Linked DNA regions of Homo sapiens: region 2 is linked to region 1. The links are contacts of gene promoters, found by promoter capture Hi-C in human tissues and cell types (Jung and others, 2019). All regions are on one chromosome and are shown on one strand. The core of a region is centred on a gene start or on the middle of the fragment in contact, and the rest is flanking DNA. Distances in the headings are between cores, read along the strand shown. Region 1 holds the start of FAM110A (family with sequence similarity 110 member A). Region 2 holds the start of FKBP1A (FKBP prolyl isomerase 1A).

What was found. The method cuts DNA at HindIII sites, captures the fragments that hold promoters and counts their contacts. A contact is called where the count stands out against the background at its distance.
Region 2: the fragment with the promoter of FKBP1A here is called in contact with the fragment with the promoter of FAM110A in region 1 in 1 of the 25 tissues and cell types used here (lymphoblastoid cells).

What each region holds. Positions count from the first base shown.
Region 1 is chr20:829,968-837,355 of GRCh38, forward strand. FAM110A (family with sequence similarity 110 member A) reads left to right here and starts at 3,748. Exons shown (of 2, transcript NM_001042353.3): 1 at 3,748-3,984. RefSeq lists a silencer at 3,999-4,148 and an enhancer at 5,665-5,764. The HindIII fragment of the contact is 14,108 bases long and covers 1-7,388 here.
Region 2 is chr20:1,391,261-1,398,648 of GRCh38, forward strand. FKBP1A (FKBP prolyl isomerase 1A) reads right to left here and starts at 1,794. Exons shown (of 5, transcript NM_000801.5): 1 at 1,702-1,794; 2 at 1,574-1,621. The coding sequence starts at 1,738. It overlaps FKBP1A-SDCBP2 (FKBP1A-SDCBP2 readthrough (NMD candidate)), which reads right to left and starts at 1,912. Exons shown (of 10, transcript NR_037661.1): 1 at 1,702-1,912; 2 at 1,574-1,621. MIR6869 (microRNA 6869) reads right to left here and starts at 1,701; the gene lies at 1,640-1,701. RefSeq lists enhancers at 1-394, 1,186-1,686 and silencers at 1,421-1,490, 1,501-1,600, 1,801-1,850. The HindIII fragment of the contact is 6,579 bases long and covers 154-6,732 here.

The DNA of each region.
Region 1 (7,388 bases), core at 2,498-4,997:
TTTTGTGAAAAATTATTACTAACTGACCTGGTATTGAAATGGCTTCCAGGAATATATCCATACCGAGCATACTGAGCTGACTCAACTTGTCGTGGCATCAAGATTCAGGATCAGAGGTTATATCTCAAGATATATGAATGGTCCTACAGCACTCAGTTCCACAAGACTGTGAAGGAGAGGTTTGAATGTATACACGGAGCCAGCAGCTAGTTTATGGAAAGTATTACAGATGTGTTTGAGACAGGCAGCTAATAAAAAGAATGTTATTTTTCTGCGTTTTGTAACGTTTGTGCAATTTCTCTTTTTTTTTTTTTTTTTTTTGGAGACAAGGTCTTGCTCTGTCATCTAGGCTGGAATGCAGTGGTGAAATCATGGCTTACTGCAGCCTCAACCTCCTGGTCTCAAGCAATCCTCCCTCTCAGCCTCCTGAGTAGCTGGGACTATAGGCACGTGCCACCATGCCTGACTAATTTCTTTTTTCCTTTTTTTTTTTTTTTTTTGAGACGGAGTCTCACTGTCGTCCAGCTTGGAGTGCAGTGGCACAATCTTGACTCACTGCAACCTCTGCCTCCCAGATTCAAGTGATTCTCCTGGCTGAGCCTCCCAAGTAGCTGGGATTACAGGTGCCCACTACCACGTCCAGCTAATTTTTTGTATTTTTAGTAGAGATGAGGTTCTGCCATGTTGTCTAGATTGGTCTCAAACTCCTGAGCTCAGGTGATCCACCAGCCTCGGCCTCCCAAAGTGCTAGGATTACAGGTATGAGCCACCATGCCTGGCCAGCTAATTTCTTTTTAAAATTTTTTTGTAGAGCTGGGGATCTCGCTTTGTTGCCCAGGCTGGTCTGAAGCCCCTGGGCTCAGGCACTCCTTCCACCTCGACCTCCCAAAGTGGTGGGATTACAGGCATGAGCCACCTTATTGTGGTTTCTTGTCTCTTTCTAACCAAATCTTCACTTTATTACTTAATTTCATATCTGTAATTTTTTCTTAAAGAGGTCTCCCTAGGGCTGGACGTGGTGGCTCACGCCTGTAATCCCAGCACTTTGGGAGGCCGAGGTGGGTGGATCGCCTGAGGTCAGGAGTTCAAGACCAGCCTGACCAACATACTGAAACCCTGTCTCTACTAAAAATACAAAAAATTAGCGGGTATGGTGGCGGGCACCTGTAATCCCAGCTACTCAGGAGGCTAAGACAGGAAAATCACTTGAACTTGGGAGGCAGAGGTTGCAGGGAGCTGAGATCGTGCCATTGCATTCCAGCCTGGGCGATAAGAGTGAAACTCTGTCTCAAAAAAAAAAAAAAAAAAAAAAAAAGAAGTCTCCCTAGGCTGAAGCTACCTGCTCAATCTTCTCTTGTGTCTTATAGGATCACAGGATCCCCCTTGCCTTACCTCACTGTTACTCCCAAACAGTTCTCACATGTTTACAAGGGAATGTAACAGAGTGGATCAGAGAATTCATTCTGGATCCAGACCGACCTTAGTTTTCTCATCTATATAATGGGAATAATAGCAGGATCTCTCGCCTTAGATAGTCATGAAGTCCAATGAGATGATGTGTATAAAGCCCTAACACAATGTAGCAGAGGGCACAGGGCCAGGATTGATATTTAGCTGGTCCTCACGGATACAGCAGACTCCCTGTTTATGACAGTGGTTGGCTCTGATTTGGTTGGTGTCCATGCCAGAGTGTACAATCATTATTAGCTATTGATATATTATTAGCTCCCTCCCCTGCCCACCCAGGGGTTTACGCAGTAAGTTCTCAATTATTGGCAATCCAAACAAAGAATAAAAGACACCAGCTGGAATGAAACAGAGAAGCTGGTTCCAAATTGAGCAATTCAGACTGACTGCTATAAAATTTCCTCACCTTAAAGGCCCTTAGAGTTAATTCATTCTAATCCCCCTAAAAATATACTTTTTTGACATGTTCAAGTATTGGAAATTTGGAAAATTCACAAAAACACAAAGAAGAAATTAACTGCTGTGATTATAGATGATTATACACATATACATATGTATTTAATACATATTTATGCTGTACATAGTGTTTTGAAGCATACTGTACTTCAAAAAAATTTGGGAGGGGTGCATTGGCTTATGCCTGTAATCCTAGAAATTCAGGAGGCCAAAGCAGGAGGATCACTTGAGGCCAGGAGTTCTAGACTGGCCTGGGGCAACATAGCGAGACCCGTAGCTTGACATGGTGATGCGGGCCTGTAGTCTTAGTTACTCTGGAGGCTGAGGTGTGAGGATTGCTTCAACCTAGGTTACAGTGAGCTATGATTGCACCACTGCACTCCACCCTGGGCAACAGAGCTAGACCCTGTCTCTAAAAAACATAAATAAACCAATGTTTAATACTTAGCATTTCCCCCTATCTTTAAATATCTTCTAGCTACTTCACTTTTATTTTTATCTTTTTGAGATGATCTCTTGCCCAGGTTGGGGTGCAGTGGCATGATCTCAGCTTACTGCATCCCCCACATCCCAGGTTCAATCTATTCTCCTGCCTCAGCCTCCTGAGTAGCTGGGATTACAGGCATGTGGCACCACGCCTGGCTAATTTTTGTATTTTTAGTAGAGACGAGGTTTCACCACGTTGGCCAGGCTGGTCTTGAACTCCTGACTTCAGGTGATCTGGTCGCCTCAGCCTCCCAAAGTGCTGGGATTACAGGTGTGAGCCACTGCTCCTGGTAGCTACTTCACTTTTAATGGCTGCATAATATTCCTCATCAGAAAGTGGGAAAAATTAGGCTAGGTGGCGTGGCTCATGCCTGTAATCCTAGTACTTTGGGAGGCTGAGTTGGTAGAATTGCTAGAGCTCAGGAGTTTAAGATCAGTCTGGGCAACATGGCAAAACCCCATCCCTACAAAAAATACAGAAAATACCGGGTGTGGTGGTGCACACCTGTAGTCCCAGCTACTTGGGAGGCTGAGGTGGGAAGATTGCTTGACCCCAGGAGATTGAGGCTGCTGTGAGCTGAGATCCTGCCACTGCACTCCAGCCTGGGCGACAGAGTGAGACTCCATCTCAAAAAAAAAAAAAAAAAAAGAAAAGAAAAAGATAAAGAAATAAATAAAGTGTTAATAATTAAAAGTACTTTTAGAGGGTTATGTCATAAGCCTTGACAAGACTTGTTCTGTAAAGCTACCCGGCATGCAAAAAGCTCAATTAAGTTAGCTCCTCCACAGGATGGAATTATATAACCAATCCCTTTCAAGAGGCATTGAAGTTGTTTCCATTATTTTGCTATGATGAATAAGGCTGAGCAATATTAATCTTTGCTCATATCTTTGGTCATTTCCTTTGTAAATTTCGGGACTGCTGGGTATGCACATTTTAAAATTAACTCACTCATCATCATGCAGTTAGGAGAACAGAGAAAGGAAGGGGCTTGCACCGGGTCACATAGGGAGTTAGCGTCAAAGTCAGGACTAGGAACCAGCCAGGGCCCTCTAACTGGAGCTCTTCCAGCTGGGGTCCTAGAGGAAGTCCCAGCTGGCCGCGGGAGGGAGGAGGAGGAAGGGAAAGAACCAGGCGCCGGGGCTGAAGCGGCGGCAGGAAGAAGGTGGGGCCGGCTGGGAGGAGCGGGCGGAGCTGCTGAGCAGCGCCTCTCCTTCGGGCGGGGGAAGCTAAGCGGTCGCCTGGCAACCCTGGCGGCGCGCCGTTCGAACGGAAGCGAGGAACCAATCAGGAAGTCCGGGGCGAACCATTCTGGTGTGAAGGGGGGCGGCGTGCTCACTTCCCCTTCCACGGCGCCCCAGGGACTTTCCCTGCGGTGGGGGCCTTCGACAGTGAGGGCCACCCGCTCAGCTCGACCGCGGAGGGCAGCTCCAAAGGGGACCCCAAAGGTGCCCACGCGGGGCTGGGGCCTCCTGGGCGTCGTTGGGAGCGGCCACTACCGGCCCGGGTCCGAGCTGTCAGCCTCTCCAAAGCCTGCGCGAGAGGAGCCGGGACACGCCTAGCGCGGGCTCCAGGTGAGGGCGCGGGTGGGTCCGGGTGCGACCCCGGGTCTGGGGGCCCCGTTCCCCGAGCGTCTGCTGTCTGCTTTCTCCCCGCGTCGTACCTGCGTGTCATTTCACAGATGAGGACTCTGAGGCTCAGAGAGGCAAGTGTCCCGGCCCGGCGAGCTCTGGCGGAGAATCCAGTTCAAGTCTTTCTGCCCCACCTCGCAGCCCCCTAGTCTAGTCACATCTGGACTTGCCTTGAGAGGCCCAGACGGGCAACTGGTAGTCATTTTCCCAGCGTTTTATCGGCAGGGACCTGTAGACCCCTGGCTGGATCACATATCCCCGCGCCCCACACTGTCCTCGGGATACCCCCTTTGGGCGTCTGTCTTTCCTTCTCCGCAGTCCGGGGTTGGACTCGGCTCATTTGGCGCCTTTCTGTCTACGGGGACAGAGGACCACTCTTTGGGGATCGGACGGGACTGACATTTCTGGGCTGGATGCAGGGGCAGCAGATTCTCCAGCCCCCAGAGCCGCTGCTGGCCTCTTGGGAATCATCCCCAGTTTGGGGAAGGGAATAGAGCCAGTCCCTAAACCAAAGCCACTAGTCACCAGAGACTTTGGAATTGGGAGTGGGGCCGGAATCCCCCCAGGTGGAGCAGCTGACCTAGGCCAGACCCTGCTGTGTCTCCTGGGGACACCCCCTGCCCCCTAGGTTGCTATTGTCAGTCTCCTTTTGTAGGTGGGGAAACGGAGGTTCTAAGAAGTTAAGCCCCTTTTCGAAGTCACAGTCAGACAATGCAGTGGTTAGCTCCTAGTCCCTCTGGCTTCAATCTTAGAATCCTTGACACACAGAATCATGCATTTTGAGAGTCTTCAATCTCTTCATAAGGGAGTTACATATCCTCTCTCCTCTGGAGCCTGCCCCTGGCTTTGGGGGACAGGATCTCCGAGGACTCAGAAAGAAAACAAGGCTTTCTTTTATTCTTTCAACAAATATTATTTATTGACTTCATAAGCCCTGCTCTGGTTCTTGCATGTTTTGGTTTTTTTACTTATTAGCAAATGTATCATCTTCTCCCACTGTGATGCAAGGCAGGGGCTGAGGCAATTGAGCCAGTGCAAAATTTAGGGATGCCCAAAACCTCAGTAATCAAGACTGAAACTAACGTTCATGGACCATTTGTGTGTTCTGCAGGCAGGAGGTTAACTCACACAGCCTTCATGAAGTGCAGTCCTCCCATCTCTCTCTCTCTCTCTCTCTCTCTCTCTCTCTCTCTATATATATATATACACACACACATATATACACACACACATATATGTATATATATGTATGTGTGTATATATGTATATATGTGTATATATATGCATATTTATAAATCATGAAACCACTGCCCTGTCCCTGAGTTGCTCTGTGACATTGAGTAAGTTTCTTCAGTCTCTGGGCTGAGCTAAGAAGTCATGATGGTGCACTCAGGCCTGGGCAGAGGGCAGTCTAGGATAGGAAGTGGGCTTGGCTGTGGATCTGCCTCCCCCTCCCCTTTCTAATCCTGCGTGCCAGGCCCTTCCCCAAGACCTTGCATGTGTTATCTTCCATTCTGTCCTCACTGCAAAATCCTTCATCCCCATTTTGCAACCTCAAGTGCAGACCTAGGCCTAGAAGATCAACTTGGTATCAGTGGGCCTAGATGTCCACATCCACACCCATTCCACAGCCTACTCCCTTCTCCCTTCCTAATGTTAGTGCAAGGCCACCCTGAGCAAGGCTGACTCCTGGGCAGGCCAGGGCACCAGCGTCTGGGAGGCCTCCAGAAATAGCTCAGGGCCTGGTGTGGCTCTGGAGGTGGCCCAGCTGGGTGTCCCTGACCTGGACAGCTGGGCTGAAATTGAGCTGGGGCTGCCCTGCTGGCTGGCCCCTTGCCACTGCCTGGAGCCTTCCCAATCTCCTCTGGGGCAGGCAAGGGCCTCCCCAAATCTAGGCCAGGCTTCTGCTGAAGGGAAAGAAAGAAGCAGGTGGGAGGAAGGGGGCGGGTTGGGTGTAGAATGTCATGAAAATTATAACCTTTGGAAACCACACCTCCCACCCCCTCACCAAAGAATAAAAATCACTAACACCTCTTGAGCATTTACTATGTTCTAAGTACTTTACAAGTATGAACTCATTTAATTCCCTCAACTCTGTGATATAAGGTAATTACTGCTGTTCTTATTTCCATCTTGCAGAGGGGAAACTGAGCACAAGAGAGGTTTAATAATTTGCATAAGATAACCTAGAGGTGGAGTTTGAACCCAGAGAGTCTGGCTCTAAATTTTACATTTTTTGGGGGGGGGGGTGGGGTGGGGCAGTGAATGAATTAAAATGTATATAAAATAAAATTTACCATTGTAACCACTTTTAAGTATACAGTTCAGTGGCATTAAGTACATTCCCCATTGCCTCTCCCCCCAGTGCCTGGCAATCACCATTCTACTTTCTGTTTGAGTGAATTTGACTACTTTGGGTACCTCTAGGTATTATAAATGGAATCATAACAGTATTTGTCTTGTTGTGTCTGGCTTATTTCACTTAGCATAATGCCTTTAAGTTTCACCCATGTTGTTGTATGTGTTAGAATTTTCTTTTTTATGGCGGAATAATCTATTCTAATATTCTATGTATATGCCACATTCTGTTTATCCATTCATTCCTTGATGGACACTTGGATTGCTTTTGGCTGTTGTGACTAATGCTGCTTTGAGCATGAATGTACAAATATCTGTTTGAGTTCCTGTTTTTAATTGTTTTGGGTATACACTCAGAAGTGGAATTGCTGGGTGATCCTATGGCAATTCTGTTTAATTTTTTGAGGAACTACTTTACTGTGTTTCACAGTGACTGCACCATTTTATGTGTCCATCAGCAGTGCACAAAGTGCTAATTTCTCAACATCTTCACCAACACTTGTTATTTTCTGTTTGTATTTTTTTTTTGGTAATGGCCATCTTCAGGGGTGTGATGTGGTGTCTCATTGTGGTTTTAATTTACATTTCCCTAATGACTAATGGTGTTGAGCATCTTTTCCTGTGCCTGTTGGCCATTTGTTATCTTTGGAGAAATGTCTGTTCAAGTGACTCTGCATTGTTTTTTTTTTTTTTTTTTTTTTTTGAGACAAGAGTTTCGCTCTGTCGCCCAGGCTGGAGTGCAGTGGCGCCATCTCGGCTCACTGCAACCTCTGTGTCCCGGGTTCAAATGATTCTCCTGCTTCAGCCTCCTGAGTAGCTGGGATTATAGGCCCCCGCCACCATGCTGGGCTAATTTTTATATTTTTAGTAGAGACGGGGTTTCATCATCTTGGCCAGTCTGGTCTTGAACTCCTGACCTTGTGAACCACCTGCCTCAGCCTCCAAAGTGCTGGGATTACAGGCTTGAGCCACTGCACCCAGTCATGACT
Region 2 (7,388 bases), core at 544-3,043, 560 kb after region 1:
GGAACTGAATGAACTGCCCACTCACCCCAGCACTGTAAATGGTTACTCTCCTCATCCTTCCGATGACAAATCACCAAAAGGATGCGCTTTCATCTACCAGACCTCCCAGGCTCAGGTGCTGACTGTGGCCTACAAGGACAGCTATCTAAAACATCAAAAGCACTTTCCAGCTTCCTTCACGGACATGAGACTGCCTGCTCCCCAGAAAGATGGGTTTCAGTAACTCCTCCTTTGGCAGAATTTTTAAAGTTCTAGTCCTTAACTTCTACCTCCTGCCCCCATTTCTACCCACGGGGAAGGGCCACAGAAATAAAAGGGCATGGGAGGGGGGATGTTAGTTGCCTTTTCCTCTTTCCAGTGAAAGTCATTTCCCTCAATAGAGGGATCCCTCCATGTTTCCATGATTTGGAAGAGAAAGGTGGAGCTTATTCGTGAGCAACTTGGCCAGAACTGCCCACAGCCTACTACCCAGGAGGAGGAAGAGGAGGAGAGGGAGTGGGAAAAAAAGAGGGAGGAGGAGGGGGAACAGAGGAAAGGGTGGGAAGGTTGAGAAAGGGGAAGGAGGAGGGGGAGGGAAGGTTATTCGTATCAACAACTGTGGCTACACCAATCACTGCCACCCTTGTGGGACCCACAGCCACTGAGTCTCCGCCAACTCAGCTCTCCCCCTCCCCCGCCCCCATACAAACCAGGACAAGCTTGTAAGGAGAAGGAGTAAGACAGCCCCAAGGCACACGACTCTGATGTCTGAATTCTGGCTGGGGAGGGGGAGGTGTCTAAAATTTCCTTTGGCTTGTATTATCACTATGTATTAGCCTCCAGATGCTTATCTTTAAAATGAGGACGAGAAAAGTCTCTACTTCTAGAAGAGCTGGGGGACTAAATTACACGTGCAGCTTTCGGTCAGCCTGAGCCAGCGCTGTCACTGAGCCTTGGATTTGTAAGTGGCTCAAAAGTAAAAAGACGGAAGAAGGCCGTGCAGCTCTACTTCCCCCAAGGCCAGGAAGGGCCAAAGCAATGACTTAGGAAGTGGGATGTTTCCCCACCCTAGGCAAAGGGGCGAATTCCGAGTTCCCCGGAGGAAGCAGCAGCTCTGCAGACTCGGAATTACCTCGTCCTCATCTCCAGTGAAGGGAGGGATGGAAGTGGGGGCAGGGGCACAGAAATGGTACAAATCCTTCCTAATGGTCCCTGGCCAGAGCTCTGCCCATTCCTGAAAGTGTGACCTTGGGAAAGTGAGACCTTGGGAAAGTGACTTCGCCTCGCCAAGCCTCAGTTTCCTCATCTGTGCAGCGGGCATAAGGGCAGCATCTAAGGTGCAGAAATGCTTCTGACGGGTCAGATAACACCTAGCCCGCAGCCGACGCTCACAGCCGCCGATTCAGACCCGCCCGGGTTCCGCAAGCCCCAGGCTGCCCCTGAGCCACCGCCCAGGCCTCAGCCTCGGGCCATGCGGACCTCGCCGCCGCCACGCCCCGGACCCCAGGCCCCGGGCCCCCAGGCCTCGACGGCCAGCCGCACCCGGGCTGCGGACTGCGGCCCGGGCCCCCTCCCCGCTGGGCCCCCGACTCACCGGTGTAGTGCACCACGCAGGTCTGGCCGCGCTTGGGGAAGGTGCGCCCTGAGGAGACAGAGACGGGCATGCTGAGCCGATGCGCGCGGCGGCAGAGGTACTCCGAGCCGCCGCGCGCCACTACTCACCGTCTCCTGGGGAGATGGTTTCCACCTGCACTCCCATGGCGGCGGCGGACGCTGAGCGGGCGGGCGGCGCGACGGGCGGCGTGGACCAACAGCGACCTGGCGGCGGTTCCACGGCTCTGCCTAGTACCTCGGCGCGTCGCCTGCGCACGCGCACGCCCCCTCACGCCCAGCCCTGCGTGCGCGCCCCACACGGCGCGCGACGTCCCGGAAACCCAGGCCTCCGGAAGAGGGACCGGAAGCCCAGAAGCCCCGAGACCTCCGGAAGCCCGGAGGCCTCCGGATACAGCTGTGTTTGCCGGGTGACTTGCTTCGTTCTCCTGCCCTTCCTCTGTGCTTCCAGCCGGTTAAGCATCTCCCTGCCCAAAGAATGGGAGTAATAATAGGGGGTCCGCCAGTCACTGACTGGGTGACTGTCATCAGGTTTCCACTTAGAAGCACACAGTTACTCATCCTGGGAAGAGCATGGTTCTGAGAAGACAGCGCACAGGTGGTGGTAGTATGTTAGTATTTTATAAGTGGCTCAAGGTTGTAAGTTCTGCTTTTCTTCACTGGAGGAGGAGTTGTCCAAATTCATTCACTCACCCATAGCTTACATGCATACATTCTTATTGAGCATGTGAAAGTTGATAATACGAATTGGGTCACTCTTCTTATGCCCAACGGAATCAGAATCCAGGGGCCAGGGGAAAAGCACTGGAGGCACGCAGCGCCTGCTCCAAGAACCAATATTTCCACTAACTGCTGCGGAAATGGCCTGCTGTCCCCCTGAGACCAGATTCAGCTAGTAACTGCTGAAACAACCCGCCATAACCTAATACTAGTTTTACTTACCACTGTCAGTCACCAATCAGAGCTTGCCAGCTCCCTGAAACTTTACTAGTGCCAATGCATTTCCCTTTCTAATAAAACGCCCAGCCTTCTCTTTGTTTTTCGGACATACCAAAGACCACCAGATCTGTGTGTATGCTCCGAGTTGCGATTCTCGCTTCCCCAAATAAAACATTACATTTAGAGATTCATCTCCATATTTTATTTTGACTTTGACAAGCACCTTCTGTATGTCATGTACTGTGCTAGGTGCTGAGGATACAGCGGTGAAGGAGTCAGACTTAGTCCCTGACCTCACAGAATCTACGTATGATGTGGGAGAGATAATCAAATAACCTGTTTAAGTAAAAAAAGATACGGAATAAATGTAAAGTTTCAAATCTGTAATATTATGAGACAGTAATACATGCTGTGAGGGGCGTGTTAATATAACAGAGATGCCTCACTTAGTCTGGAATGTGGTCAGATATTTCCCTGAGTTAGCCAGGTTTAGCCAGGTTTAGCCAAGGTTAGAAGGCCAATTGTGTGTATGTGTTGGGGTAAGGGGAGGCAGAAGGAGCAGTACCTGCAGAGGCACTGTAACGCAAGAGAACACTGTGACATGGTCTAGGACATAAGGAGGCACATGTGACTAATCTTTCTCTGATCTGTGTGTGTGTGTGCTTCTGCATTAGTCGATTCTCACACTGCTATAAAGAATACCTGAGGCTGGGCACGGTGGCTCATGCCTGTAATCCCAGCACTTTGGGAAGCTGAGGCGGGCAGATCACTTGAGGCCAGGCGTTCAAGACCAGCCTGGCCAACATGGTGAAACCCAGTTTCTACTAAAAATACAAAAAAATTAGCCAGGCATGGTGGCACAGGCTTGTAATCCCAGCCACTTGAGAGGCTGAGGCATAAGAATTGCTTAAACCAGGAGGCGGAGGTTGTAGTGAGCCAAGATTGCACCTCTGCATTCCAGCCTGGGTGACAGAGTGAGAACCAGTCTCAAAAAAAAAAAAAAAAAAAAAAAATTCCTGAGACTGGGTAATTTATGGAGGAAAGAGGTTTAATTGACTCACAGTTCTGCATGGCTGGGAATCCTCAGGAAACTTACAATCATGGCAGAAGGGGAAGCAGGCATATCTTACACAGCAGCAGGCATGAGAGAGAGTATGTGAAGAGGAACTGTCAAACACCTATAAAACCATCATTTCTCATGAGAATGCACTCACTACCATGAGAACAGCATGGGGGAAACCACCCCCACCATCCAATCACCTCCCACCGGGTCCCTCCCTTGACCTCAGGATTATAGGGATTACAATTCAAGATAAGATTTGGGTGGGGACACAGAACTAAACCATACCAGCTCCTGTAGTGTTTTAAACATGACCTCACAGTTTTTTGACACCCCAACCCTCATCTATGTCCCCTTTCCTAAAATCTCAGTGAGCTCGTGACTGCTTTGGAAATTTTAATGTAGTAAGAATACAGGCTGTAACAGAACCAAATTAACTGTGGCTGAAAAGAGGCTGAAGTTGCTGTCTCTCTCATGTAACAGTTCAGAGGCAGGTGGTTCAGTGCAGGTAGGACTTCACAGGCTGCCCAGGGACTCATCCTTCTTCTACTTGTGGCTCCCCATCCTTAGAATCCTACCCTCATATGCATGGTCCAAGTTGGCTCTCCAACATATTTTCATCTCAGCTAGTGGGAAGGGGGAAAGGAGGAATGGGGGGTACATTCCCTTTTCCTTTAAGGGTACGACTTAGAATTGCACACATCTCTTCCCGTTATACTTCACATTGACTATAACTTAGTTATATGGTCAAATTTAGCTGCATGGGAGGCTAGGGAATAAAGTCTTCATTCTGGGTGTACACACACCCAACTAAAATCAGAGGTTCTGTGCTCATAGAATGGAAGAATGGAGATCGAAAGATGAAATTAAAAAGAGGGCCCCAGCAGTCGCCAGGACACTGCTTCACACCACCTAGAGAAAATCAGACTGCAGCGAGAATAAATGATGGAGAATGAGAGCAACCAGGGGCGAGAGAGTTCCTGGATTCCGTTTTCCCTGAAGCCTAGCAGAATAAGGCTTGCCTCACATTCATCCTGTGGTCTCTCTCATGGCTCTGAATTGGGTATCGGTTCAAAACATAGACCTGCCTTTGAGACAGTGGCCATCTCAATCCATGGATATAAGCTTTGTTTATATAGATGGGGGTTCCCCAAGAACCTCACATTTGCACCACTTCTTCCTCAGTGCTTTGGGAAAACACAGGAAAGCATGTAGCTATCAGTTCTGCCACCAGACCTAAGATGAATTGGACCTGGGGACAAGGGGCACTTATTAAGCATTTATCTGATTTTTTGAAGTAACTGGGAGAGTTCCTTTCTAAATTAATTTAGATTCTGTTTATATATAGCCTAGTTATTAACAACTCTGTTAAGTAGTTAAGTTCTTTGGGATCACCCTTAGCAAACCAGAACAAAAAACAGAAAGAGTGAGTGACTCTAAGAGATGGAACTGGGAGAAAGAGCAGGAGATTCTGACTTTCATTTAATATCATTCTGAACTGATTAAATTTATTTTCACTCTCTTTGTGTAACAGGAGACAGGGAATCATTTCAGTCTGAAGTCATAAGCATCCCTCATGACAAGGGGAAGTGACTCCCTCCCTGAAGTTCTAAAACCTGAAAAATGGGGGTTGGATTTCCTTTGGTTTATCCTGTTTGTGGTTTACTCAGCTTCCTGAGTCTATAGGTGTATGCCTTTCACCACATTTGGGAAGTTTTCAGCCATTATTTCTTCAGATATTTTCTTCTGCTCCATTCTGTTTCTCCTGTTCTTCTCAGATCCTGGTAACACGAACATTAGATATTTTGGAATTGTCTCACAGGTGCCTGAAGTTCTGTTCAGCTCCCCCCAGTCCTTTTTCTCTGTTGTTCAGATTGGATAATTTCTATTTTTCTATCTTTGAGATCACTGGCATGTTTCCCTGCAATCTCCATTCTGCTATTGTACCCATCTGTTGGGAGCTGAAAAGGCCAAAGGGATTGTGACCAACTCAGCATTCCACTGAAGGATATATGATCAAACAGCAAACTGTTTATCATGAATGCAGGATGTGGGCAAACTCACAACTGCGCCTGCCGCCAGGAGGTTTGCTGAGGGCCCTGGCGCCATGCTCATTGAGATTATCTACTGGGACATCTAGATCCTATTGTTCAAAGACTGCAGTCTTGCAAGCCTGCTGTAAATCAAACTGCTAACCGACAATCACCCCCCACTTCTTGCTATCTCTTTTGCCTAATAAATGTGAAGGGCTCTAAAGCTCAGGCCCCCTGTTTACCAGAAGCAAGGAGCCCCCTGACCCCTTCTTTCAAATATGCTCTCTTGTCTTTGTCTTTTATTCCCATGTTTGCCCCCTTTGTTCAGTCCCCCAAGGTCTGTGCAGGTGACAAGTGGCGACCCAGAACAGGGACTCCAAGGATGTCGGACACGTGGCATCTGAACACAGGGACTTTGAAGACGTGAATGAAGAAGCTCTGCTGGAGCAGAGGAATTGAAATTGACAAGATGAACGGGGACCCCAGGATGAGTCTGCTGGCAGCAGATAGAAGGTCAGTGCCCTAAAGAGGTACTGGGAACGATATAAGGTCAGTGCTCTAAAGAAGTACTTGGAATGGGAAGTTTTCTGAATCAGGGTAACATGAAGCAGAATTTGTCTATTGAAGAAAAACATCATGTGCAGTTGCTTAAAGTTCTGTTGAGACAGTCTGGAGCTCAGGTTAATTCGCAGGCACTAACTAACCTCCTGCAGAAGCCACAAAAGGTTATTACGCATAACCCATGGTTTCCACAGGCAGGCACTCTTGATGTGGAAAATTGGGATAGACCAGGAGAAGGATTAAAACAGGCTCATCAAAAAGGTCCTAAAGTTGATTCTTCTGTTTTCTCCACTTGGAGTCTAGTTCGTACTGTTCTTCTGCTATCTCCTTATTATTCTGCTGGACAGCAGGCTGAGTCTAAAAAATCTGAAAGAATCTGTTGTCCCACCCACAGCTCCAATTGAAAATAAAAAATGGAGAGGGAGGATAAAAATTGGCCTACACCGCCCCCTCCAGTTGCAGAAACATCTGTACCGCCTCCTTTGGTAGCAGAAATAGTGACCCCAATACAAAGAATTTTATGCTCTGCTGCCATAGCTAAGGGGAGCCCTTAGGACCTTGTACTTTTCCTATTTCTGTAAGTGTAACGAGTGTAGCTAATAATGGGGTACAGAGCCCATTCACTTTAGGATTGGTAGAATCTGCATTTGGTGCTATGTGTCTTCTACCCTTTGATGTAAAACACTTGGCTCAAACTTGCTTGTCTGCTAGTGCATATCTGACGTGGTATTTAAATTGGCAAGAACTGTGTGCAGACCAGGCTAGACAGAACCATATTGCTGGACATGGAGACATTACAGAGGATATGCTATTGGGTAATGGCCCTTATTCAGACCTGGAACGTCAAATGGCACTCCCAGACGCTGCTTATCAGCAGTGTGCACAGGCTGCTAAACACACCTGGGCCACAATTCCTGAAGAGGGAGTCCCAGTACTGTCCTTTTTACATATCATGCAAGGGTCACAGGAACCCTACGCGCAGTTTCTTGCAAGATTACAAGAGGCAGTGAAGCATCAAATTCCTCTTGCCACTGCCACGGAAATGCTAACCTTAACTTTAGCTTTTGAGAATGCAAACGCAGATTGTAAACGTGCACTGGCACCTGTGAGGTGTACAAAAAACTTTTCTCAGAGCTTGTCAGGATGTAGGAACTGAGCTTCATGGGTCTTCAATGTTAGCGCAAGCAATGGCTAATCTAGCAGTT